Linked DNA regions of Homo sapiens: regions 2, 3, 4, 5, 6 and 7 are each linked to region 1. The links are contacts of gene promoters, found by promoter capture Hi-C in blood cells and fetal thymus (Javierre and others, 2016). All regions are on one chromosome and are shown on one strand. The core of a region is centred on a gene start or on the middle of the fragment in contact, and the rest is flanking DNA. Distances in the headings are between cores, read along the strand shown.

Evidence for each region. The method cuts DNA at HindIII sites, captures the fragments that hold promoters and counts their contacts. A CHiCAGO score of 5 or more calls a contact.
Region 2: a contact is called between a fragment that was not itself captured here and the fragment with the promoter of TRA2A in region 1, in 1 of 17 cell types (total CD8 T cells). The highest score is 6.5, in total CD8 T cells.
Region 3: a fragment that was not itself captured here is called in contact with the fragment with the promoter of TRA2A in region 1 in 1 of 17 cell types (non-activated CD4 T cells); the score reaches 5.5 in non-activated CD4 T cells.
Region 4: a contact is called between a fragment that was not itself captured here and the fragment with the promoter of TRA2A in region 1, in 1 of 17 cell types (naive CD8 T cells). The highest score is 5.4, in naive CD8 T cells.
Region 5: a fragment that was not itself captured here is called in contact with the fragment with the promoter of TRA2A in region 1 in 2 of 17 cell types (M1 macrophages and endothelial precursors); the score reaches 6.7 in M1 macrophages.
Region 6: a fragment that was not itself captured here is called in contact with the fragment with the promoter of TRA2A in region 1 in 1 of 17 cell types (non-activated CD4 T cells); the score reaches 5.8 in non-activated CD4 T cells.
Region 7: the fragment with the promoter of PALS2 here is called in contact with the fragment with the promoter of TRA2A in region 1 in 2 of 17 cell types (naive CD8 T cells and naive CD4 T cells); the score reaches 8.9 in naive CD8 T cells.

What each region holds. Positions count from the first base shown.
Region 1 is chr7:23,530,512-23,533,699 of GRCh38, forward strand. It overlaps TRA2A (transformer 2 alpha homolog), which reads right to left and starts at 1,470. Exons shown (of 8, transcript NM_013293.5): 1 at 1,278-1,470. The coding sequence starts at 1,313. RefSeq lists enhancers at 528-1,098, 1,099-1,668, 1,210-1,259, 1,280-1,329, 1,340-1,559 and 3 more. The HindIII fragment of the contact is 3,554 bases long and covers 1-2,635 here.
Region 2 is chr7:25,171,362-25,174,549 of GRCh38, forward strand. All of the region lies in intron 2 of SPMIP4 (sperm microtubule inner protein 4), which reads right to left. All of the region lies in intron 1 of LOC124901603 (a long non-coding RNA gene), which reads left to right. Among named protein-coding and RNA genes, the nearest start is that of SPMIP4, 7.4 kb to the right of the region's middle. The HindIII fragment of the contact is 1,815 bases long and covers 535-2,349 here.
Region 3 is chr7:25,152,834-25,156,021 of GRCh38, forward strand. It overlaps SPMIP4 (sperm microtubule inner protein 4), which reads right to left. Exons shown (of 10, transcript NM_138811.4): 6 at 2,178-2,359. LOC124901603 (a long non-coding RNA gene) reads left to right here and starts at 1,185. Exons shown (of 3, transcript XR_007060261.1): 1 at 1,185-1,234. The HindIII fragment of the contact is 4,248 bases long and covers 1-3,188 here.
Region 4 is chr7:24,817,513-24,820,700 of GRCh38, forward strand. OSBPL3 (oxysterol binding protein like 3) reads right to left here. Exons shown (of 23, transcript NM_015550.4): 17 at 2,663-2,726. Among named protein-coding and RNA genes, the nearest start is that of GSDME, 62 kb to the left of the region's middle. The HindIII fragment of the contact is 7,449 bases long and covers 1-3,188 here.
Region 5 is chr7:24,763,135-24,766,322 of GRCh38, forward strand. The region is part of intron 1 of LOC124901820 (translation initiation factor IF-2-like); the gene reads right to left. It also overlaps a transcript of GSDME not described here. Among named protein-coding and RNA genes, the nearest start is that of GSDME, 7.3 kb to the left of the region's middle. RefSeq lists an enhancer at 196-490. The HindIII fragment of the contact is 526 bases long and covers 1,272-1,797 here.
Region 6 is chr7:24,589,233-24,592,420 of GRCh38, forward strand. The region is part of intron 1 of PALS2 (protein associated with LIN7 2, MAGUK p55 family member); the gene reads left to right. It also overlaps the pseudogene SUMO2P14. Among named protein-coding and RNA genes, the nearest start is that of PALS2, 17 kb to the left of the region's middle. The HindIII fragment of the contact is 2,116 bases long and covers 480-2,595 here.
Region 7 is chr7:24,571,764-24,574,951 of GRCh38, forward strand. It overlaps PALS2 (protein associated with LIN7 2, MAGUK p55 family member), which reads left to right and starts at 1,689. Exons shown (of 12, transcript NM_001303037.2): 1 at 1,689-1,830. RefSeq lists enhancers at 838-907, 928-1,027, 1,893-2,392, 2,338-2,387, 2,438-2,557 and a silencer at 1,168-2,237. The HindIII fragment of the contact is 6,948 bases long and covers 1-3,188 here.

The sequences.
Region 1 (3,188 bases), core at 220-2,719:
ACTAGAATAAACATCTACACAACAGCCCGGAACGTGTTGCATGGGGCTTTTGTTTTCTTTCCAGGGTTTCACACGAACTCACTTCTACTAACTCACTTCTACAATTCCCTATGTAGGGTAAACTTTGGAAATGAAACTCACTGACAAACGTTCCAGTACATTTAAGCTGGGGATATCGTATTCTTTGTGATGTTTGTATTTCTCCGACCCCAAATATATTAATAAAAACTTTTTTCTGAGCCCTCTTCGGTGGGGGATAGAGTGAGAAGAGAAATGGGAGAGGGCCTGTTAATTTTCAGGTCATCTTTTAAGTTACAGAACAGTATATACTGACTAGTTATCTTAAAAATACTGAGCCAATGAATTCGTTCAGCTATGTAAGATTAAAGAAAGACAGATTTTTTTTTTTTTACCGTAAAAACCTGTAAAGGAGTGGTCAGTTTTTAGATGAAAGGTCATAGGAAGAAGAGCATTAAAAGTTGAGATATAAAGAAGAGAAAAAACCCAACATCGAGGAATTAGAAAAATAAGGCGTGACAGCATTTCCACATTCATTTCGAAGTGAAAGGAAAGTCGAAGGGACATTAAGGGAAAAGGGCTCCTTGCGTAGTTTCCCCTCACAGCTCTCGTCTTAAGAACGCTTAAGGGTCGGTGCGGTCGTTGACTAACCACTTCATTAGGCTCGTCCCACCTTCAACCTCAAGGCTTTCGCCTTTTTAGACGCAACGCCGCCGGTTCCAACAGAGACGCGGCCGCTCACTGAAATAGAGAGCCAAGGAGACACAGGCCCCAGCTAGTCCCACGCCAGCTTCTCCCCGCCCGGAAAGCAGCCCCGCGCACTTTCGATCCCGAGACCCTCTACGATGCTCGGGGTCGCCAGAAATGCCACCGCAGGAAGCACCTACCACTATCCGGACGGAGGGGAGCTCCCTGCCGCCTCCTCCCGCCCAACCGCGACGGGGACCCACACCTCGGAGCAGACATAAGGAAGCCTCAGGGGTGGGGAGAAGGGAGGAAGCAATGCGGGGGCGGGGAGGGAAGAGGACCCAGAAGTCCAGGTATCAGTCAGCCTCCAAAAAAGGGGGAGGGGTGTTATCCGTGGTGTTTGGGGAAGGAGTGGAACCCAGAAGCCATCTTGGGATGGGAGGAATCAATCGCGATGGCTCCAGAGGTTGCTCCTCGCGGGACTACCCGCAACCCCGCCCGACCGCGCTTGTTCCCGTGAAACCCCGAGCATTGGGCCGCCGCCTAGACGGCTCCCGCGGCTTTGTACTCACTCTGCCCTCGAAGTTGTTTTCCTCCACATCACTCATGTCGACGAGGCGCTCCCCAGAACTAAATAAGAGACAAGTCTCGGCTCGAGGGCCGATGGCCTAATTAACCCGCTGACTGGACCGTGGGGAAGAGGAAAGAGTCGGCAACCACAGCCGCTCCACTCCACTCCCACTCGGTCGCAGGCTCCAGCAAAATGGCGCCGGCGCCGCCAGAAATCTCCTGGCCTCCTCAGAGCACGACGTAAAGGGGGCGGGCGTCTCTGTGACGTCACGAGGCTCCACCTCCCGCGAGGCTTTGTGTCGGCTGGGCCTGGAGCGAGGGTGGAGGTTGGCGGGCGGCCTGCGCTCTCAACCTGGGCGCCTTGGAATCGCGGTCCCGTGCTGTCCTCCAAACTTCAGACTCACCTCGGACGCGTCAACCTCTTTGAAGACTTTTCAGTCGCCAGATGAGCCTTATATGACCTTAGCCCCTTTAAATATTGTCCAAGTGGATTCTGATGTAAGGGAACAAAACATTGGAAGCGTTTTTTTATGTTTGTTTATTTTTTGAGTCAGGGTCTCGCTCTGTCACCCAAGCTGAAGTGCAGTGAAGCGATCACTGCTCACCACAGCCTCAAACTCCCGGGCTCAGACGATCCTCCCACCTCAGGCTCCCGCGCGCGCCACCACGCCCGGCTAATTTTTTTCTTTTTTGGGACGGAGTCTCACTCTGTTGCCCAGGCTGAAGTGCAGTGGCGCTATCTAGGTTCATTGCAACCTCCACCTCGCAGGTTCAAGCAATTCTCCTGCCTCAGCCTCCCCAGTAGCTGGGATTACAGGCATGCACCACCACGCCCGGCTAATTTTTGTATTTTTAGCAGAGACGGGGGTTTCACCATGTTGGACAGGCTGGTCTCAAACTCCTGACCTCAGGTGATTTGCCCGCCTGGGCCTCTCAAAGTGCTGAGATTGCAAGGGTGAACCACCGTACCCGGCCCACCCGGCTAATTTTTGTGTGTTTTGCAGAGATGGGGTTTTGACATGCTGCCCAGGCTGGTCTCGAATTTGTGGACTCAAGCGATCTGCTCGCCTCGGCCTCCCAAAGTGCTGAGATTACAGGCCTGAGCCACCGCGCCCGGCTGGAATCGTGTATATATAACAGGCTTTTGGGGGGCACGTTGTCAGCTGACTGTATTACTTTTCTTCCATATTTGCCCTGTGTAATGTCGACGTAGTACATGCACAGATGAGGTTATGATGCAAAGCCGCTGCTCCTTGCCTCGTGTCCCTGCTCCAGTTCCCCCTCCTAGAGACAGCCGTGTAGTTTTTTTTTTATAATGCTTAGCTCCCTACTAGTTTTTTTGACTTAGATATTTCCATAAAGCTTCACAGTGAAGACCTCCCAAATCTGTCAACTTGGTTCCCAATCATAGTAATAATCTCTGAGATGAGTTTTACTTGTGTAATGCAACTTTAAAAATTAGTTTCATCTTAAATTTTTTTCCTACAGTGCTTTGTAGTAAAAAGATTGACATAGACTTTCAACTATAGTTCTATGGTAGGAAAGTTCATCTGGCATTATTATGAAGATTGCTACCACTGGGGGCAAGATTTCAGCATTTGAATGTCAGTTATTGATAGGGATAAACTTAAATGACATCTGGCTCTTAGAAAAGATGTTGAACTTGGCTGGGTGTGGTGGCTGACGCCTGTAATCCCAGTACTTTGGAGACCCTAGGCGGAAGATCGCTTGAGGCCAGAAGTTCGAAACCAGCCTGGTCAACATGGTGAGCCCCCATCTCTACAAAAGAAATTATTATTATTATTATTGAGACGGAGACTTGCTCTGTCACCCAGGCTGGAGTGCAGTGGCGCGATCTCGGCTCACTGCAACCTCCACCTCCGGGTTCAAGTGATTCTCCTGGCTCAGCTTCC
Region 2 (3,188 bases), core at 192-2,691, 1.6 Mb after region 1:
TAAGGCCAAAGAGATGGATTTGTTTCCTATACTGCTTTCTGTGATAGAGGAATCAAATCTTCTGGTTAGGAACACAGCCTTACAAAAACACCTGCAAATGCATCTGGCAAAAGTTCTGCTTCCTAATTAGGAAGGATTTAATGACTTTCAGTTTCCAGTAATGGCGGCCTAGGTTATTTGGACCAAACTTCCCACTGAAAACAACTAAAAATACTGGGAGGAGAAAAAAAAATCTTAAAAACAACTAGCTTTTTGACAAGACAGAAAGGGATAAGTGCTACATAGAGGGTAAATAGGAACCCAGTGAAGTAAGCAAGCAGGGAAGCCACTTCTGCCCTTAGGGCAGGGCTGATCCTGGCAAATTTACATTTTTGTTTTAAGGTGAGGGATATGGAAATCAGCCAAGTGAGGAAACTAAAGGAGACCATCTACACAAGAAGCTGGGACCTTAAAATGCTTACCCTCTCATGTTCAAGGTGAGTCAGAAGTTAACCAGTTCCCCTGTGGCCCCAGTTTGCATCTACCCTAAACTTAAGCTTGGATTTAAGTGGTCCTGGATTGGTATTATGGTATATACCTATAAGGCACTTTGCAGGACAAACAGGAATCCTTTCAGTAGGAAGGATTCTTGCGGGAAATCACAAGATGTGTTCTAAAGGATGAGTAGGAGTTATCTAGAGGAAACAGAAGAAATACTGTGGCATGCAAGGGAATAGCAGGTAAAAAGGCCTAGAGTTTAATAGACTGGAAAATTCCTGACAGTGTTGACTTCAGTGTAGAATCTCTCTTAGGGAAGAATTACTTTTGTTTGGTAAAATATTCTGTTAAGCCCCTTGCAGACACAGAGACTCTGAAAGTATGGGTGGTGGTAGGAGCTCAAGCAAGCTCAGACTGATTAAACTGCTCTGCAGTGGGAGAAACTTGTTTGTTTGCTCTTGAAAGAGGGAGAGGAGAGGAAAGGGGAGTAAGGGAAGAGGGAGATGAGAGGAGCCAGCAGGATGGTGAGGCTACTGGGGACTGCACTGGTTGAAAACCCAGGGAGAAACCCTTGGCGACAGCTGGTTAAAGACCTTTTAAGAATGTGGAAGTTATGGCTAACAAGGTGTTTTGGTTACATGTAGCATGGCATGGTGTGACTCTCCTTCCTGATCCCCAACAGTTCAGTGAAGTTTACCAGGCTCACAAATGCTCTGCATGGACAAGGTCCTTAGAGAAAAATGAGGGATGACTGAGTTTCACATCTGGGTCAGTGTGTTGTTTTAAGTGGAACCAGGAACCCAAAGTCAGAAGTGACCATGAGACTTTCAAATGCTATCCCTATCCTTGTCCTGGGAACTTGGATAAATTTGGAGGAATTCCACAAGGCATGGAGTAAAGATCTGAGATCTCAGTAGAACTTACCCAGATCTTAGGGGCTGAGAAAATAGAGTTGAATTTTGAACTATATTAGAAGAGTTGATATAGAATTCTAGAACTTGGGGCATGTAGACAAGGGCCATGGTGAGAGGTGGAGCATGAGAGGAAAACAAGGACAGTATCCTGTGGGGCCTTCTAAATCCTCTGGACTATACCCTGAGAACAGTAGGATCCAGTCAGAAACATGGAGGAGAGGAAGGGGGTGGTGGGGTGAAGGGTTGGGGGAGGAGGGCGAGAGAAGGAAGGGGGAAGAAAGTGGGAGAAAAAGGGAGGGAGAGAGAGGGGGAGAGAATGGGAAAGAGAAGGGGAGATAGGTAGGTAGATAGGGAGAGAGAAGGGGAGAGACAGGAAGAGAGAGAGAGGGAAAGAGAAAGAGGTATGGACTGTGGAGCTACTTTTTTCTCTTTACCAGTACAGTGCTTGGCTTAACATAACCCCTCCTCCCCCACCTGTAATAATTGTTGAATAGAATGAAGAAGCAACACTCAGGACTATAAGTGGAATGTATTATCTTGTGAAGTCACTAGATTGAGAGTTGGCAAAGCATGGCCCATGGGCCAAATCCAACTCCCTGCCCGTTTTTGTAAACAAAAGTCTATTGGAATACAGCCATGACCATTCATTTATGGACTATATACATACGGTCTATGGCTGCTTTTGCCCCACAATGGCAGAGTTGAATAGTTGGACAGAGACCGTAAAGCCTACAATATTTACCATCTGGCTCTTTACAGAAAAAAAGTTTGCTAACCCCGCACTGGCTAGGCAAGGAGAGTCCTGGGCCCACTGATTTGGGGTGCTGCAGAAGGGATGCTGGCATTCAGCTCTCAGACCTCTACGTCCTCCCTAGCTGTCTGACAACGATCAACAGACACGATTTGGGGGACATGACAAGTGAAAAATATTTAAATGCATTTGATTAATGACAACCTAAGCTTTAATATCTAAGTTTGTAAAAGTTACATTCAAAACCTAAATGAGTCAATTTCTCAACATCTGACCCCCGTATATTACATCGTCCCCAGAAGATGAGCCGGTAGAAAATGCTAATCAATCATTTGGGCTGGCATCCACCTAAAGCTGGAAAGTTGCAGGAAATCATTTAAAATAAAAGACAATGCATAAATAAGTCATATTTCCCTCTTACTTTAAGGTATCATGTCTCCCTCCCCTTAGCCTTAATACTCACAGAATTGTAGAGAAGGAACCAAATTAAAATAAAAATTGACATTTTAGGATGTAATAATTTAGGATTTCATGATAGGATTTCATTATAGGCTCCCATTTGTTTCTGGATTCACTTCATTGCTTTCTGATTCTTAAACATTTTTAAAAAATGATAGTTATCTGCCAACTCCAAATGAGGGCTATGTTTTAATAATTTTAATGAAATTTTAAACCTTTCTCTTTCCCCCTCTCTCTCCGTCTCCCTTTCTCTCTCTCCCTCTTTTCCTCCCCCTCTCTCTCACTGTCTCTCTCACTCTCTCTCCATGTCTCTCTCCCTCTCTCTCCCTTTCTGCTAGCCCAGTAGTTCTCAATGTAAATAAAATACATCTCTATAACAAAGAGAATAATTATCAAATTATTGGTGCTACCATCTCTAGCGATAGAAAATTGTTTACTTGTTTTTGAAAAGGACACATTCCCTATAGATGAGCCAGTATTTCATTTTAAAGTCACTGTACAAGATTTTATGCATCAAACCCCAAATTCAGTAATTTAGCCAGTAACTACTAGGAGGCGTGACTAGAGAAAAGCTCGAGATAAACATG
Region 3 (3,188 bases), core at 375-2,874, 1.6 Mb after region 1:
CCTGGGTTCAAGAGATTCTCATGCCTCAGCCTCCCAATTAGCCGGGACTACAGGCATGCACCACCAGGCCTGGCTAATTTTTGTAGTTTTACTAGAGACAGAGTTTTGCCATATTGCCCAGGCTGGTCTCGAACTCCTGGCCTCAAGTGATCTGCCCACTTTGGCCTCCCAAAGTGCTAGGATTACAGGCATGAGCCACCACACCTGGCCCATGCTTCTTAGTTCTAATAAAGAAGAATTAAAATAAGTGGAAGAGTAGAAACCTAATGCTGTACTAGTTCCTGGAAAGATTTTTTTATAAGGGTTGTTAGAGGATGCTCATCTTTTAAAAATTCCCTAATAGTGACTGAATGGTTGGAGAGAGGTAGAGGCTTGGAAGAGCAGGAAATTAAGATGACAACTTGTTTTTTCAGTCCCTTATGTTACTGCACTGAAAAGTGTTTTTATGGGCTGGCCATGGTGGCTCATGCCTGTAATCCCAGCACTTTGTGAGGCTGAGGCGGGCAGATCACTTGACGTCAGGAGTTCGAGACCAGCCTGGCCAACATGGTGAAACCCTGTCTCTACTAAAAATACAAAAACTAGGTGGGTGGGTGGGTGTGGTGGCACGTGCCTATAGTCCCTGCTACTTGGGAGGCTGAGGCAGGAGAATCACTTGGACCCGGGAAGCAGAGGTTCCAGAAAGTGCCACTGCACTCTAGGCCTGGGCAACAGAGCAAGACTCCGTCTCAAAAAAAAAAAAAAGTGTTGTTATGAATTCAACACATATTTCTGTGATTTCTTGCTAACTATGTGTACTTCAGATAATTTCAGAAATTACTGAATTCAGGATTGAGAAAAAGAAATCTACTTTGACAATTTACGTAACAAAGTCATAAAAATTTTACTTGTTTATGTATCATACTTATCATTTCCTTTAGAACATTTATAGTTCTTTTGCATGGCACCATCTCTCCCCACTTCTGCTATAGAGCTAAGCATGGTGCTCGATACTAACAGCCAGTATACTTGATACAGCTTTCACTGCCTTTTTCCAATGCTGCCTAGTCTGAGAGGCAATGGGAAAGTTCAGCATGGTACACACATACTGCAGTCATTATACGCTAGCAGGGTAAGAGAATAACTGCTAACATTTATCTCTGTTATTTGATAAGTAGGTTCTATTAATAATATTCCCATTTTGCAGACTGCGAAGCAGAACAGAGGAGTTCAGAAACTCTCCCATGGACCGCAGGTGAGTAAGTGGCAGATCCAGAATTCTACTCATGCAGTCTGACTCTAGAATCCATGCTCTTACATATTCCACTATGTTAGCTTTCAAAACGTTACTGTCTGCTAATAAGACACCGAGGTTGAGGCTGACGATGGCAATATTCTGTCCTTGCATTTTGGTCCAAATATTCATGTATAGAGGAACTGCAGGATAGGACAATTCTTGAGTCTTTTCTACCTCACCTAAATGCACTCAACAAATATTTGTCTTTGCCTACCATGTATCATTTCTGTCCCTCTCTCAAGTGTTTTCACTCTTTCTCCAGAGGTGGCCTCTCTGTTTACGCACATGTGTAGGACTCCTCAGCAAAGACCGAGGTGTCTAGTGTGGGAGAGATTCGATGACTAGTGTACGGGATTCCTGATAAAACACATTCACAAAGACTCCAAGGTTTGCAGCTGGGAGAACCTGCTCCAGGGTGTTAAGAAGGACTGAACAAACTACTCCCATTGCTTTCTGCATCTTATTTCAATGGGGATCTTTCAATTCTATCACTGCTGCATCCACGTCCAGACTCTGTGATTGATGCAAACACTGTCCCTTGTGCTGATCACCTGGGCTAGGATGAAATTTTTAAAAGCTAAACCGTGAGAGCAGGAAAGAAATAAAAATAGAAAATAGAAGTGGAATAAAAACCACCAATTCTACAACGTTTTGGTTTCTGATTGTAACATGAGAGGCTGTGTCAAGGGGAAAGTTTGGGAGCACCTGCAGAGAGTCTGATTTGATGGGTCCATGGTGGCGCGCCAGCTGATTTGTAAAGTCGCAGCTGTGAACAAGTTTCCTGATCTATTGAGTCACACATTTGTGACTTGAGTCCTTTGTGCTCCTTGCTTTAATTTTATTATTGAAGAAATCCCAATAATAAGAATTAATACAGTTCTGATTCCAGGTCACATTTTACCTCTTGTCTTCAAAACTGTTGAATCATAAGCCTTGGTTGGCACCGTGGGAGGAAAGGGCTGCTGGGTGCGGGCTTTAATGCCCGTGTAGAGGTCCTCAGGTGACGTGAAGGTGGGGAACATGGCGCCGCGACAGATGTGTGTGTGGTAGGGGTGTTCAATTGGATATGGCAAGCAGATCTCTCTAAGATTTATTGAGGAAACAAAACAAAATGAAAAGAACAGAAAGAAGTATGGTTGAAAAAATTAATCATCAAAAATTTATTGGGACCCTTTTTTAAATGGCAGAAACTGTTCTAATGCTGGGGGATAGGACAGTGAGTCAATGTCCCTGTGCTCATGGAATTAGCATTCTCTTGGAATGTATACCACAAAACAGGACATTTTCTTAATTTTGCTAGACAAAACTAAATTTAATTTTAAAATAAATCATGCCCAATTCTTTGTCAGTGAGTAAGTTTCATAACTCGTATAAAAAATATAAAGCAAAAAATAAATGAGTTTTGTGTTTGTAGAATGGTATAGTTGCTTTTAATTACTGTGTCTTATTTTAAGAGGCTCCCAGGAATTGTTTTGGGCATTCTGCTTCAGCAAAGTGATCTCTAACCATCTTTGAATGAACTTTCAACCCAGGCCATCTGTTTCTTTAAGCAATCAATCAACAATCAACAATCAACAAAATATAACCCCTGTTTATATACACAGTACTGCTTCAAAATCAAAAAGCCAAAAACAGCTAGCACACTGAAGGAAAAAATAAACATGTTAAAGAGACCATAGGGATATAATTTTCCTATCATTTGGAGAACTGGCAGAGGTTAAAAAAAAACCATGTGGGAGCTGTCTAAACTAGAAGAAAAGCAAAATTAGGAAGTCCATGGGATAGAGAAATGTTATTCATAACAAGAAAATTAAGCAGAAAAAAGCAAGACCAAGTGTTTATGTGTTGAATTCCTCCCTTCCGCCCTCATCCATATATTGAAATCCTAGTCTCCAGGGCCACATATTGTAAC
Region 4 (3,188 bases), core at 516-3,015, 1.3 Mb after region 1:
AAAACAAAACTGAAAACGAAAAACAATGGGCTCTCCAAGCCTGGCTAAGAGTCTGGTTTGTGTGCACTGAGTGGAAATAATCAGGCCACTGATGTGATTAGACATGGACCTTGCAAAGGCAATTGGAAGCCATATGGAGAATGGAACAGGAGTAGGAGAGAGGAGAAGCAAGGCGACAAGTTAAGAGGCTACTGCAATTGCCCAGGGGATAACAAACGGGATGAAGGGAACCAAGACAACAGACGCGGGGAAGTGAGTGAGCCCAGAAATACTAAAGAAGAAGAAATAGGCACTAGGTCAACTAGGTGACAAGTTAGATACAGACTGAAAAAGAACGAATTTATGAACAATGTCAGATTTCTCTAACTTGCAATGAATGGTGGTACCAACAGAGAAGCCAGGAAATAGAAAAAGAACAGCAAGAGGATCCCATCTGGCTGCTGCACTGAGGATCTACAGATCACAGGGAAATCAGGGTTGAAGCAGGGGGGACAGTGGGGAGCCCTGGCTGGGGTCCAGGTGAGAGAGGTGGGTCTGGGACCAGCGAGCACAGTGGGCCTCATATTGTTTAATCCTATTTATATAAAATGCCCCAAACAGGCACATTTATAGGCTGGGGAATATTGAGAGAAATGGGGCAGGTGGCAGAGGGGGTGGATAATATTTGCTAAAGAGGATTCTTTTTGGAGTGATGAAAATGTTCTAAAATTAACTGTGCTGATAACTGCACAGTTTATTAAATTCACAATTCTGTGAATAAAAACCATTGAATTGTACACTTTACACGGGTGAATGATATGGTATATAAGTTATATGTTCATAAAATTGTTACCAAGAGAAAAAAAAGATAGATGGCTGTTTAAAGCTAAAGTATTAACAATGTACTACATGGTTTATGATATACAGAAGACGTATGAAAAAATAGTAGAGAGGTTGGGAAGGGAAAATGGAAGTATACTTCTGTAAATCTCACTATATGAAACTGGCATAATATTATTTGATGATATTAAAAATATATAACATAAATCCTAAAGTAACAACTTTAACAAGAAACAAAACAGGTAAGTATAGCTAATAAGCTAACAGGGGAGATGAAAGAGAATGATAGAAATTATTCAATCCAAAAGGCAGAGAAAGAGGAAACGGAGAACAAAGAACAGATGTGACAAACAGAAAAGAAACATCATGAGGGCAGATTTAAGCCCAGCTACATCTACAATCACAACAAACGGAAATGGTTTACACAACCTACATAAAAGGCAGAGAAATGTCAGGCTGGGTTACAAAGCAAGATTTGGGAATCCTAGGCCCATGGAAATAGGTAGATTGCTCAGGAAAAGGCTGATGGGGAAGTATGGCCTAGGAGAAGGATGCTAAGGCTGAGAAGGGAAGGATGTAACACAGGAGCACACAAAACTACTTTGAGAAGACCCCTCGCATTAAAAAAAAATCCAACTTTTGGCTGGGCGCAGTGGCTCATGCCTGTAATCCCAGCATTTTGGGAGGCCGAGGCAGGCGGATCACAAGGTCAAGAGATCAAGACCATCCTGGCCAACATGGTGAAACCCCATCTCTACTAAAAATACAAAAATTAGCTGGGCATAGTGGCGCATGCCTGTAGTCCCAGCTACTCGGGAGGCTGAGACAGGAGAATCACTTGAACACGGGAGACGGAGGTTGCAGTGAGCCGAGATCGCACCACTGCACTCCAGCCTAGCAACAGACTGAGACTCCATTTCAAAAAAAAAAAAAAAAAATCCAACTTTTGAAAAAACAAAGAAGAGGTGCTTATAGCATGAGTGAGATTTACCAATTAGGAGGCTAGGAACCTTATGAGAATATTTCCAGAGGGTTTTGGTGAGAGAGCAGTTTTAATTTTAAACTTTAATAGCAAAGGTGAAGAAAGAAAACCATGGTACTTGTCACTTTAAACTGGAAATACTGATTGCCTCCAAAGAGAGAAACTGAGTGGCTGGGGAAGGGGGTTACAGTATACTGTTTCGTACTTTTAAAGTTTAATAGACTGCGTGTGTGTGTGTGCCTGTGTGTGTAAAGGTAACGTGTGATATCACTAGTAGCAGAGAAAAATATTTTTAAAATGTATATGTGCTCACTGTCCAAAAACCTAGGATGCTTATATGTTCCTTCTACAGTACACTTTTTTTTAATAAATTGAGAGATTAACAAAATTAATCCATCTAGGAAATATCTATAGCCTTATTTATTCTTTAGAAGATTTACCCACCCAACCCCAACTCAAAATATAAACTGAACAAAATTTTAGGAACAATCATCTCAAAAATGAAAAGAAGTAAGCAATGTAAAACACGACTTCAGAAATAAAATTTAAGTTTGACAAAAGCTGAAAACCCCTCTGCTGTCTACACTCTGATAAACAACTGTAAATATTTAATGTCTCTTGAAATATGTGAGGCATTTCAAATGATTTTTACATAAGATAAAGTTACAGAAATAAATGGAGGTGGCTCAGATAAACTAAGTGAGAGATGAGAGGCAAGAACAGGTGGCGCAGATCCTTCCAACCAGGCCCAAATCCAAGGACCACTTTTGATCTCAGTAAGAATTGACAGCAATTCTTGGATAAAATAAATAGATAACATATTACACAATATGATGGAAGTAAAATGTATTAGCACATTACCTTGCCAGAAAACAAAATTTCTAGACTCAGCATGACACGCAGAGATAGGCGGATGGTGGCTGACCTGATGGAAACAAAGGACAGAAAAACAAAAAATGAATGAACTTTTGTGTCTCATGAAATCCATTCTTTCTCCCCTGCACTGAGATGTAACAGCGTGCAATGCTGAACTGAAGGAAAAACTTCTTTAGTTTCCCTCATCAAGTGTGTCCTCAAGAGGGCGCTCCTGATACAGTCAGCTCCCACTTGCTCAGATTGGTCAAGGCTGAGGGGAAGGCCCTTGAACGGAAGCCTCCAGAAGCCTCCGTGGGAGGGCGGCCAGGTGGCGAGTGATGAGGATAGAGGCGCATTTTGAAAGACATAAAAATAAAAACGGAGACATGTGAGGACTGCTCATCCATAACATATAATCTGACATTGGCTACCAATGTCAACATCTCTTATTAGCTGTTCTGAAAGTAGCTGCAGATGTTTTAATTAAGATATCAAATAACAAGTATTTTAAATGCAACCCAAAATGTTCTTC
Region 5 (3,188 bases), core at 285-2,784, 1.2 Mb after region 1:
TTTTTCATCTTAAGCAAGCACTTACATCACATAGCGGCCATAACATTTGCAGTTCGAGGTGAGATAGCAAAACTAGCACAAATTTCTTTTCTCTTCTTTAGTTTCACAGAGAGATTTGGTTCTTGAAATAGATCTTAGCAACTTCAGCATACAATTTTTTTCTTTCCATATTGAGAACTTTCACTTTCTCACTTTACAGCTTCTCTTTGGAATATCCCAATTGCCCGCATCATTACTATTGCACAGAGGGGCCATTACTAGATAAAATAAGGGTGATCCAACTCAAACACTGCAATGTCATGACAGCCAATCTGATAACCTAGATGGCCACAAAGTGACCAGCAGGCAGGCGTGTAGACAGCATGGATATGCTGGACAAGGGATGATTTGTGTCATTGGAGAGGACAGGGCAAGACAGCATGAGATTTCATCATGCTACTCAGAATAGCACAAATGTAAAATTTATGAATTGCTTATTTCTGGAAATTTCCATTTAATATTTTTGGATGGAGACTGATAGTGGGTAACTGAAACCACAAAAAGTGAAACTGCAGATAAAGGGAGCCTACTGTACCTTCCTTTGGCCAGAAATCAGTCACAGAGTCTCTCCTAATTGCAAGACAGGCTGGAAAATGTAGTCTTTGTGCTCCGGAAAAAAAGGAACTGGGTTTCGAGAGCAGTGGCCGACACAGCTTTGTACAAAATAATTTTAGAGGGCAAATAGGTGATGGCCAAGCCCAGAGCTTTTGTAAAGAATCCCAACTAGGGTAAACCAGACAGCTGAACTGATTTAAATGACATATTTTTGGATTGTATAATACATTCTGTTTTTTAAAACGAGCCGTTCTTAATCTTACACCTGATTCCAAGAGTTATCTAAGAATACAGGGAGAGACTGGTGATAGAGTGGGTGTGGTTGATGTTTTCATCTATAACAATTTATTACTGATACAACTTCTTAGCTGAGTTATAATTGGAAGGGGAGTATGAGAATTGTGTACACACTTGTTGTTTGGTAAGGTCCTTAAAAAGACTAATTGCAATGGAAAAAGCAATTTGGCAAGGAAAATTATCCTGGCACCTGACTCAATCTTGACTGATTGCTAAAAGCACCAGTGTAATAAATGTGTTTGGTCTGAATGATGGAAAAGAAAACAACCCTGCAAGTAGAGCTTCTGTCACCTTAGGCACCTGTGATATCATGAAAGCTTTCGTTTCAAACTGTTGGTAGAAATGGAATTTTTTTCTAATACTATATGTTGAAACCTTCAAGCTTCTTTTTTTCTCCCCCAAAGAACTGTACCTGTCATTTCATTCTGAGGCTCCATCTCTGTAAGGAGTCTAGACATCCAGTGGGAATGGGCACACAGGGACTTCAGAAATCAAGTCAGCTTGCTTTCTGCAAGTAAATCCATCTTCTTTTGCTAACTTTCTTATATTAAAAAACAATAAAAAATCAACACCACCCCAAACCAAGCAAATCCCAGTGTCAGTGTGGGCAGCCAACTAAGACATGGCTGTTTGATGATTTTGGAGTTGGTGCAAATGCTACGTTTGAGTTCCAACTCTGCCTCTTACTTGCTGTCACCACTATTCCAAACCTCCACTTCCTTATCTGGAAAGTGGGAATAATCACGCCTAGCTCACTGAGTTACTGTGATTAGATATACCAGCAGATACTTGATAAATGGTAGCTATGATTATTAGTTTCTGATTCCCTGGAATTCCATTCCATTTTACAAATACTGTTGAGTGCCTACTGTGTACCTGAATAAATCTGGATTCCTGCCTTTAAGAAGCTTACAACCACTAGAGGAGTGACGTGCTGAAAAAGCTTTAAAAGGTCCCAGCAATTCTGACTTGGCAGAGGGAGTTTTGGGGAAACATACCATAGAAAGACCAGCCTTTGATTAGGGCCTCACAGAGAAGGCTGAGCAAGCATGCTTCAAAGTTCCCCAAATCCATTTCTCACCTCTCCTTGCTCACCAAAAAGCCTGGCCCCGGGTAATGCTGGACCTCCTCTCTAGGAATGATTAGCCTTACATTCTAGAATTAGAAATAGACTTGAGGTATAAATAGCCCCTAGAGAAGTCACAGTGCAATAAACAATCCCATTAAGTTTTAAATGTCGATACGGATCCTTTCTTGTCGAAAATGGACAAAAAGTTTACAAAAAGAAAATTAATATGAAATTATTCCACAACTTCGCTATTTTTAGCTTAGTTAGAACAATGGGCACTGTTAAATTGTTTAGCCTAAAGCTCCCTCCTTAGTATTTCAAGTTCAGCCTAAAGGTTGCTCCGGGTATAGTGAACTGTAACCTCACTGGATGTGTTAGGTTACAGTTCAGCCAATCACAGGCCAACTGCTCAACCCAATGTTGAAATAAGGCAGCTGTGCAGCTGTGCCCAAACCAACTGTTTCTGTACGTCACTCCCCTTTTCTGTACGTCACTGCCCTTTTTCTGTCCTTCAATGTTATCCAGACATGTGGCAGCCCCAGAGTTGCTCTGAACCTATTCTGGTTCTGGGAGCTGCCTGAGGCAAGAATCATTCTTTGCTCAATTAAACTCTGTTAAAGTTCATTTATCTAAAGTTTTTCTTTTAATAGCACCAAGTTAGATATCTATAATACCCACATTTTTTGGATTGCTTATTTTTGTCCAGCATGATCCTTTATATACATCATTTCATTGGATCTTTGTACAACTCTATAAATTATTATTGTCCCTATTTTACAGATGGCAAAAACTGAATCCTAGAGAGGCAGCCTATAAATCTGGCACAATATATATGAGGATCTGAACTCAGATCTGAGTTCCATGCCCTAACTTTTGATTACTGCCTAATGGGTAAATCTGGGGAAGACATCAAACATTTAAACATAAACCTCAAAGTCCATATTTTTACCTTTAGGTAAATTAATATTCATTCACTGAAAACAGATTATTTCTTCTGTTCTTAAATGTTCTCTAGGTTAGTGACTCCTAAAACAACTCCTGTAGTTCAGTCTAGTGATTTCTATGGCCATGATATTAAATTACATTATTTGTGTGTGTGTGTGTGTGTGTGTGTGTGTGTGCATGTTTGCCTGTTTTCACAGTCAGCCTATACTCATTCATTTTGCTTTTAATAAAATCCAGACCCTGCACAACACTTTATTTATTTATTTATTTATTTATTCATTAT
Region 6 (3,188 bases), core at 288-2,787, 1.1 Mb after region 1:
ACATCCAAAACCAAGTTGCCTCATTGATAGATCAGTTGTTAACAATAGGCTCTCATTAGTTTGCTAAGTGATATACTCTGGAGCTGTACCACTGAACCATTCCACCCCACCACTGCAACTCTATATGGTTATTTTTTTGGGTCTTGACTCCTTTCTTGGGCTTTTTGTCAGCCATGGAAAGCATTACTGTTGCAGCTGCTGCTTCTCGAAAGAAGTTTCAGGTACCTCATGTATGTGCACACAACCAGCATTAGTAAGTAAGCCTGTTTTAATTCTGGAGATATTTTACCTAAGAAATATTTAAGTGTGTGAAGAGACTACTTTTCTGAGTGTAGAAATTTCAGGGCAGTCAAATGCATTTCTGTATTGTTAATGCTCTGAACAAGCTAGTGTACCTGGAGGGAGGAATTTATGTTGGTTAATGAGTAACATAGTTCTCTCATCCCATTACTTATTTATGATCAATTTATTTTTAATTAAGCTTTTAAAATTATTAATGCTACATGACATGCAAAGTTAAAATCAGCATGGAAGAATGAATGTACCATGAAAGTTAAAGGTTTCTATCCCTACTCTTACTTCATAGAGTTAATCATGGTTAGTAGTTTCAGATTTAGTTATATTAGTAAAGTGGTTCTCAATTCATGACTGGCATTTTTGGCAGTACTATACTTTGCAATGCAGGATTGTCCTGACCTGAACACTACTCAGTGTTTAGTGTCCCTTAATATTTGGTTTTCTACCACAGTTACTGAGACAATCAAAAATGGCCTAGTACATTTCCAAATGCTCACTGGGGAGAGGTGGTATGCTAATTTTAAAAAACATACATCTTAGAAAGCATATGTTTATGTTTTCAATTTCACACAGTAAGTATTGACTCTAGTATAAAAGAATATTTAAGTGCGCACAGACTTCTTGAGGGAGGCCCAGAGAAAGTCCACTTGGGAGGAACTGTGCTTACTTCTAAAGTCTTAGATGATAAGATTTTTCAATCTTACCTGCTTTCTTTCCTGATAGTCTTACTTTCTTGTGTTTTCAGCTACCTGTCTTTTTGTTACTGTTTGATGATTTTTGAATTGTGTGCTCTTGCTTCGCTGGGTTTTATTGGAGGAAATTCTGTGCAGCCCAGTTAGAGGACACATTCTTTCCAAGGTTTGCCAAGGCTTTTCTTTGGCACCTGTGGAAGCCACTGACCCAAGACCACTTCGTAGTTTCTCTGCTTGGGGTGTTCTGAACTAGGCAGGTAGGTATATTTGGAACCCTGAATCCTTGAGAGTAGGCTGTGATTACTAATTCTCAGGTGATATTTTTTTCTGCTAATATGGAGTCCAATCTGAGACAGGCCAACTTCCTTATTGTCTTCCTTGGCCAACAGGCATGTTTTTATTAGACTACTCTTACAAAGTAGGGGTTAGTCCTATAAGGTCTCAGCTTCATGTGGGAAGGTCTAAGTTGCATTTTTCATCTTGAACAGGCCAGGGCCTAAATGGCAGCTTCTGAACTCCTGGTTACTGAAATCCTAAACACCCCAGGGCAGTCATAACTTCAGTACCTACTTACTAGTTTGTTTTTTCCCCTTCATATTGGCTCACAGGGATATTCTTGGGGACTTTTTTTTTTTTTTTGAGGGGATGTTTTCAGTATTTTATTTTGCATTTTTAGATGTTTTGTGAGAGAATTATTTTCAGATTTTCAAGGGTACCTTCTTTGCCAAACCAGCAAGCCTTTCTTATCTGTTTTCTAACTTCTAAGCAGTTCCTAAACTTCTGGTTTGCTAATCTCTTTCTCTTTTATTTTTGTCTCACCTCCCCTCCAGTATTAGTGCTGTTTTATTCTTTTTTAAAATTACATACCTGTTTTGTCATTTCAGTGGGACCTCAGGAGGGAGGGAACATAGGCATGTGTGTTCAGTCTTCCACTTTAACTGGAAGTGTGTCTAATAGTTTTGAGGTATACTATGTCTATTAGGACCAACTGACCTTAGGAAAAATCAATGTAAATACCTTTCCATTTAACTGTCATTTTAAGTTTGAATTTAAAAAGCATAGTCTTTGGCTGTAAAAGAGGGACAGGGTCAGGAATGGAGGATGACATTCAGACCATTATGCAGTTGAGCAAGGCCTCACTGAGATAGGGGGCAGTGTGTAGCTTGACATACGTGGGCTCTTACCATAAAGTCTAGCTATATAAAGCAAATCACATTACAATGATGAGAAGCCAGAATTTTAAAATTTCATCCAATGAGTATTTATTAAATGTGATGTGTCTGGAGTAATACTAAGAATTAGAGTACAAAAATAAATAAAATGCCATATCCTCAGTGAACCCACTAATTTTGTGTTAGAGATAGACATGTAAATTAAAATAGTTCTCATTATTCAAGATAGTTATGGTGTATAAAGTCTCTGCAAATGCAGAATTATCAAATGCTGAGCCGTGTTGCTTCTAGGGGAAATGCAGGGTTAGGTTCCTGCAAGCCTTTAGTCACAGTATGTTCATCAACTGGTCAATATATAGCCTTTTTTATCTGTATTTCTCTTTAAAGATACTTTATTATATATTATTGATTCATTAACATTGTACTCATAGCCAAGCTTACCATATCTTATGCCTGAACAAAGCTTGTCTAATATGTACATTTTTCTGTAAAGCACACCAGAGCCTTTTCATGATAAAGAAACACTAGATAGCACTTCAGTGCTATGATTGGGGACCATTTTGTGAAATCACAAACAACAGAAAAATGCAAAAAAAAAAGTGGCACAAAATAAACTATGAAAAGGATACTTGTTTTTAGTATGAGAGCCGAAACAAGAAAGCAGAGTGTTGCTTTCTTCCACCTCAGCTGGGACTGTGCAATGTTGGGTGACTCAAATTTTTCACCACTCTGCATATCCACTAATGACCACAAAAGCTCTGTAAGTATCGATTATTGGATTAAAAGTAAATTTTAGCAAGTAGGCAAATTCGCAAACACAGAATAATGAGAATCAACTGTACTGTATAATGTGGTAAGTGCTGTATATTGTAAATCTGCTAGGTTGGGTCAGGGAAGGCTTCATTTGAGACAATTAAGATGAATTTACAGCAGTATGAAGCAATGAATCTATGGAATGGCAAATGGTCCAGAGTGGTTGGAATAAAAGGGCCCCTGTAAGGAGAGGCAAGTGGGGACGTTTGGACTG
Region 7 (3,188 bases), core at 439-2,938, 1.0 Mb after region 1:
TTTCATCCAGCCATCCTGACTACAGGGGGCCCAAAGCTACTCTGTGCCCTGGGCACGTTTGAGTCTCCTTAAATGCTTCCAATTACCTTTGCCTGGGTTTGTGGTTCCAGGAAAGAAGGTTCTAAATTAACACTGTACAAGGCCCCCCTGCATGTTGGTTTGCAAAATTAATGATCCTAATGGAAAAGTAAATTAATCTTTGATGCTTGGTTGAGGATAAACACAAAAATCACTGTTTTGGACACTGGACCTTCTTAATACATCTCATCAATAGTATTTTCTCTCTCCCTTCCATGCCTGCCACATTCACAAAGAGAGGAGACAATACAACTTATAACTTCATCTCTGAATCCAAAGGGCCATGATGCACGCATTTATTCTGCAAACACTTATTAATGGTCTGGTTTGTGCAAGGTGCCCAAGAGAAGCCAGGAAAGGCTGCACAGAGGAGGCCACCTCATAACACTCCTCACACGTAAAGTTTGACTTGCACTTTCTACGTTCATGGTTTGAAAAGATTGCAGTAAGCATTTTGTAAAATGTAAATTACATTCTTCAATTTTAGGAAGAACACAATAGTTTTTCCAAAAGCCGCCTGTCACAGGTCTGAGGGTTCACAGAGCTCTTTTAAGGGGATCGGAAGTTCTCTGGCTGCCTTGCTATGTTTTTCTAGCCAGAAGTCTCTGCTGCAGTGCATTGCTCAGTTCCTTTCAACTGAAAAATTAAATCTGCACTTCTGTCAAAATGTGTCATCTACACATCCGGACACTCATCACAGTTCACCAAGCTCTACGCAGAGTCCAGGCTGAAAGGATGGCATGCCCTCCCCAACCCCACCCTTTTGAGGTCTGGGAAGCCCAGGTGCTGGGGAGGAGCTGAACAACTGTGTCCAGGGAGTGTCTGGCAAAGCCGACCCAGGGAGTTCCACGGGAGCCTCGGTGCTATGAAAAGAGCCAGTGTCCATGCATTTCCTCGGGTGTGAATCACACTGCCCGGTCGGGCCTTTGGGAAAAAATTAATGAAGGACACAGTCAGCGCCGTAGAACCTGCCAAATACACATCAGATCCAGTGGAGTCTGTGAAGGGGGAGGGGGAGATTTTTCCAGAGGCTTTTCTTCTCGTTCCATTTCTCTTTTGTGCCCCACGACTGGGTTCTTGAATGTAAAACTCTCAGAAAGGTCAGGGCGGAGCCTGTTTTATGCCCCGAGGAGTATCTTGCCCACCCGTAAATGCTGACAGACAGCTGCGACTTCGGCCCAGGAGACCCGGCGGGGACTGGGTCCGACCAGCCCTCTCTCGCGGGCGCAGGTCCGGGACCCCTGAAGCGAGCCGGCCGGGCGCAGAGCGCAGTCAGTCTGGGCGCTCAGAAGCTGGGAGGGGGCTCCACCTGGGCGCCCAGCCGCGGCGGGAGGGGCGGGGCCCGGCTTTCCGGAGGCGGTGGCACCTCCTCGCGCCCGAGCGCGCGCTCCCCGACGTCCGGCGCACGCGCGAGGCCGGCTGGGAGCGCGCCCAAGCGGCGGCGGCGGCGGCGGCTGGAGGAGGAGGAGGAGGAGGAGGAGGAGGAGGAGGGCGGCTGAGGCGCGGCTGGCTGCGCGCGCGGAGGCAGCGGCGGGGGCGACCGGAGCTGGGGCAGAGTGGGGAGCGAGGGAGGGGGAGGAGAGAGAGGGAGGCGGAGGGCAGTGAGAGACGCATTTCCAGTTCTCAACTACGAGCCACGAGTTTGCAGATGGGGCTGCTCGGCGGCGCCTGTGGCTGAGGGAGAGCAGCGGCGGCGGGGAGCGACCGGGAGCGGCGGCAGCGGCGGCGCGGAGGCGGCTGAGGTGCGAGCCGGTGAGTTAACTGGACCCCCACGCCGCTCGGGTAACGGTCGCGCCGCGCGCCGGGCCGGCCGGGGGCGCCCTGTTGCTCGGCGCGGCGCGCCACGCGGGGACCCTGGCCCGCCCCGCCCCCCTCGGCACCTGGGCTTCGGCGGGCGCGGGGAAGAGGGACCGGCAGGCGGCGGCGGCGGCGCCGCGGTCGGGGAGGCTGCTGGCCGCCCCCAGCCCGGCCCGCGCGGAAGGGGCGCTCGGCCGGGCTCCTGCCTCTCTGGCTGCGGGCGGCTGGGCGGGCCGGAGCTCGGCAACGTGTCTGGCCCATGCTGCTTGCCGCCGCTCCCCACGCGCTCCCCGGCGCGGCCCCGACTGGGGCTAGGGCCGCAGACGCGCGGGGCCCCTTCGGGCGCGGGGCTTGGGTGCCTACACCTCTGCGGCGGGAGTCGCGGTGGAGCCTGAATGGAGAGCCGGCCTGGGGGCGGCGTTGCTGTGACTGACACCTCCGGGGTCTGTCCCGAGAGGGGGTGATTCCGCCGGCTCCCGGTTCTCTCCCGAGCTCGGAGTTGGTAGGGGAGGAGGCTTTCTCCAACTACCGCCGCTACTTCCGAGGTACGAGACTCCAGTTGTTTGGCCAAAGTGGCTGTGGGCCGAGCACAGGCTGCCGCGGGGGCGTTCGCTGCTGAGATCGTGCTCGCGGATTCTCGGTACGTTTGTCTGAAACCAAATAGGTGCTGGGGCTTTTTTATTTTGGCTGGGTGGAGGGTCAGCAGGGGAGTCGATTGAGGTATCCGACCGTGTGGTGACAGGATGTGGATTGGTTGGTAGATGTTTTTTTGCAGAAGGACTTTTTAACACTTTACTGGGAGTTTATTCTCAATCCTACCAGTTTCTGGGATTGCAGCTCGAGATTACATTTGTTAAACTTCCATCAGTTGGGTGTGCATCTGTGTAGGGGGTGGGGGTGAAGCGAGGGAGAGAATTGAAGACTGCCGGGGAAGCTCAGAAAATTCTCCGCATTACTTATAAACAGCCGGGTAAGGTCAGGCTAGCCACGTTTTATTCTTTCCTACGCCTTTGGAGAGTGTTGGAATTTTACTTTGTGCTTCAAGTATATTACAAGTGGTCTTGTAGTGTAGCTGAGAACGTTTGGGGTGCGTTAAAATGCGTTTCAATTGGAGTATGATTTAGCAGCCATTTCTTCCCGTGAAATTTTGCAAATCATTTGTAAACTTATGTTGGTCGAATATACCAGGCGAAGTAACATTTTTAGTAATGCGGTATATAGTTTCCGTATATAGGTATAGCAACGGACCTCAAGTAATATTGCTTATTGTAGGCATCTACTGTGCAATGATAGGGTAGTGGGTAGTAGGCCTG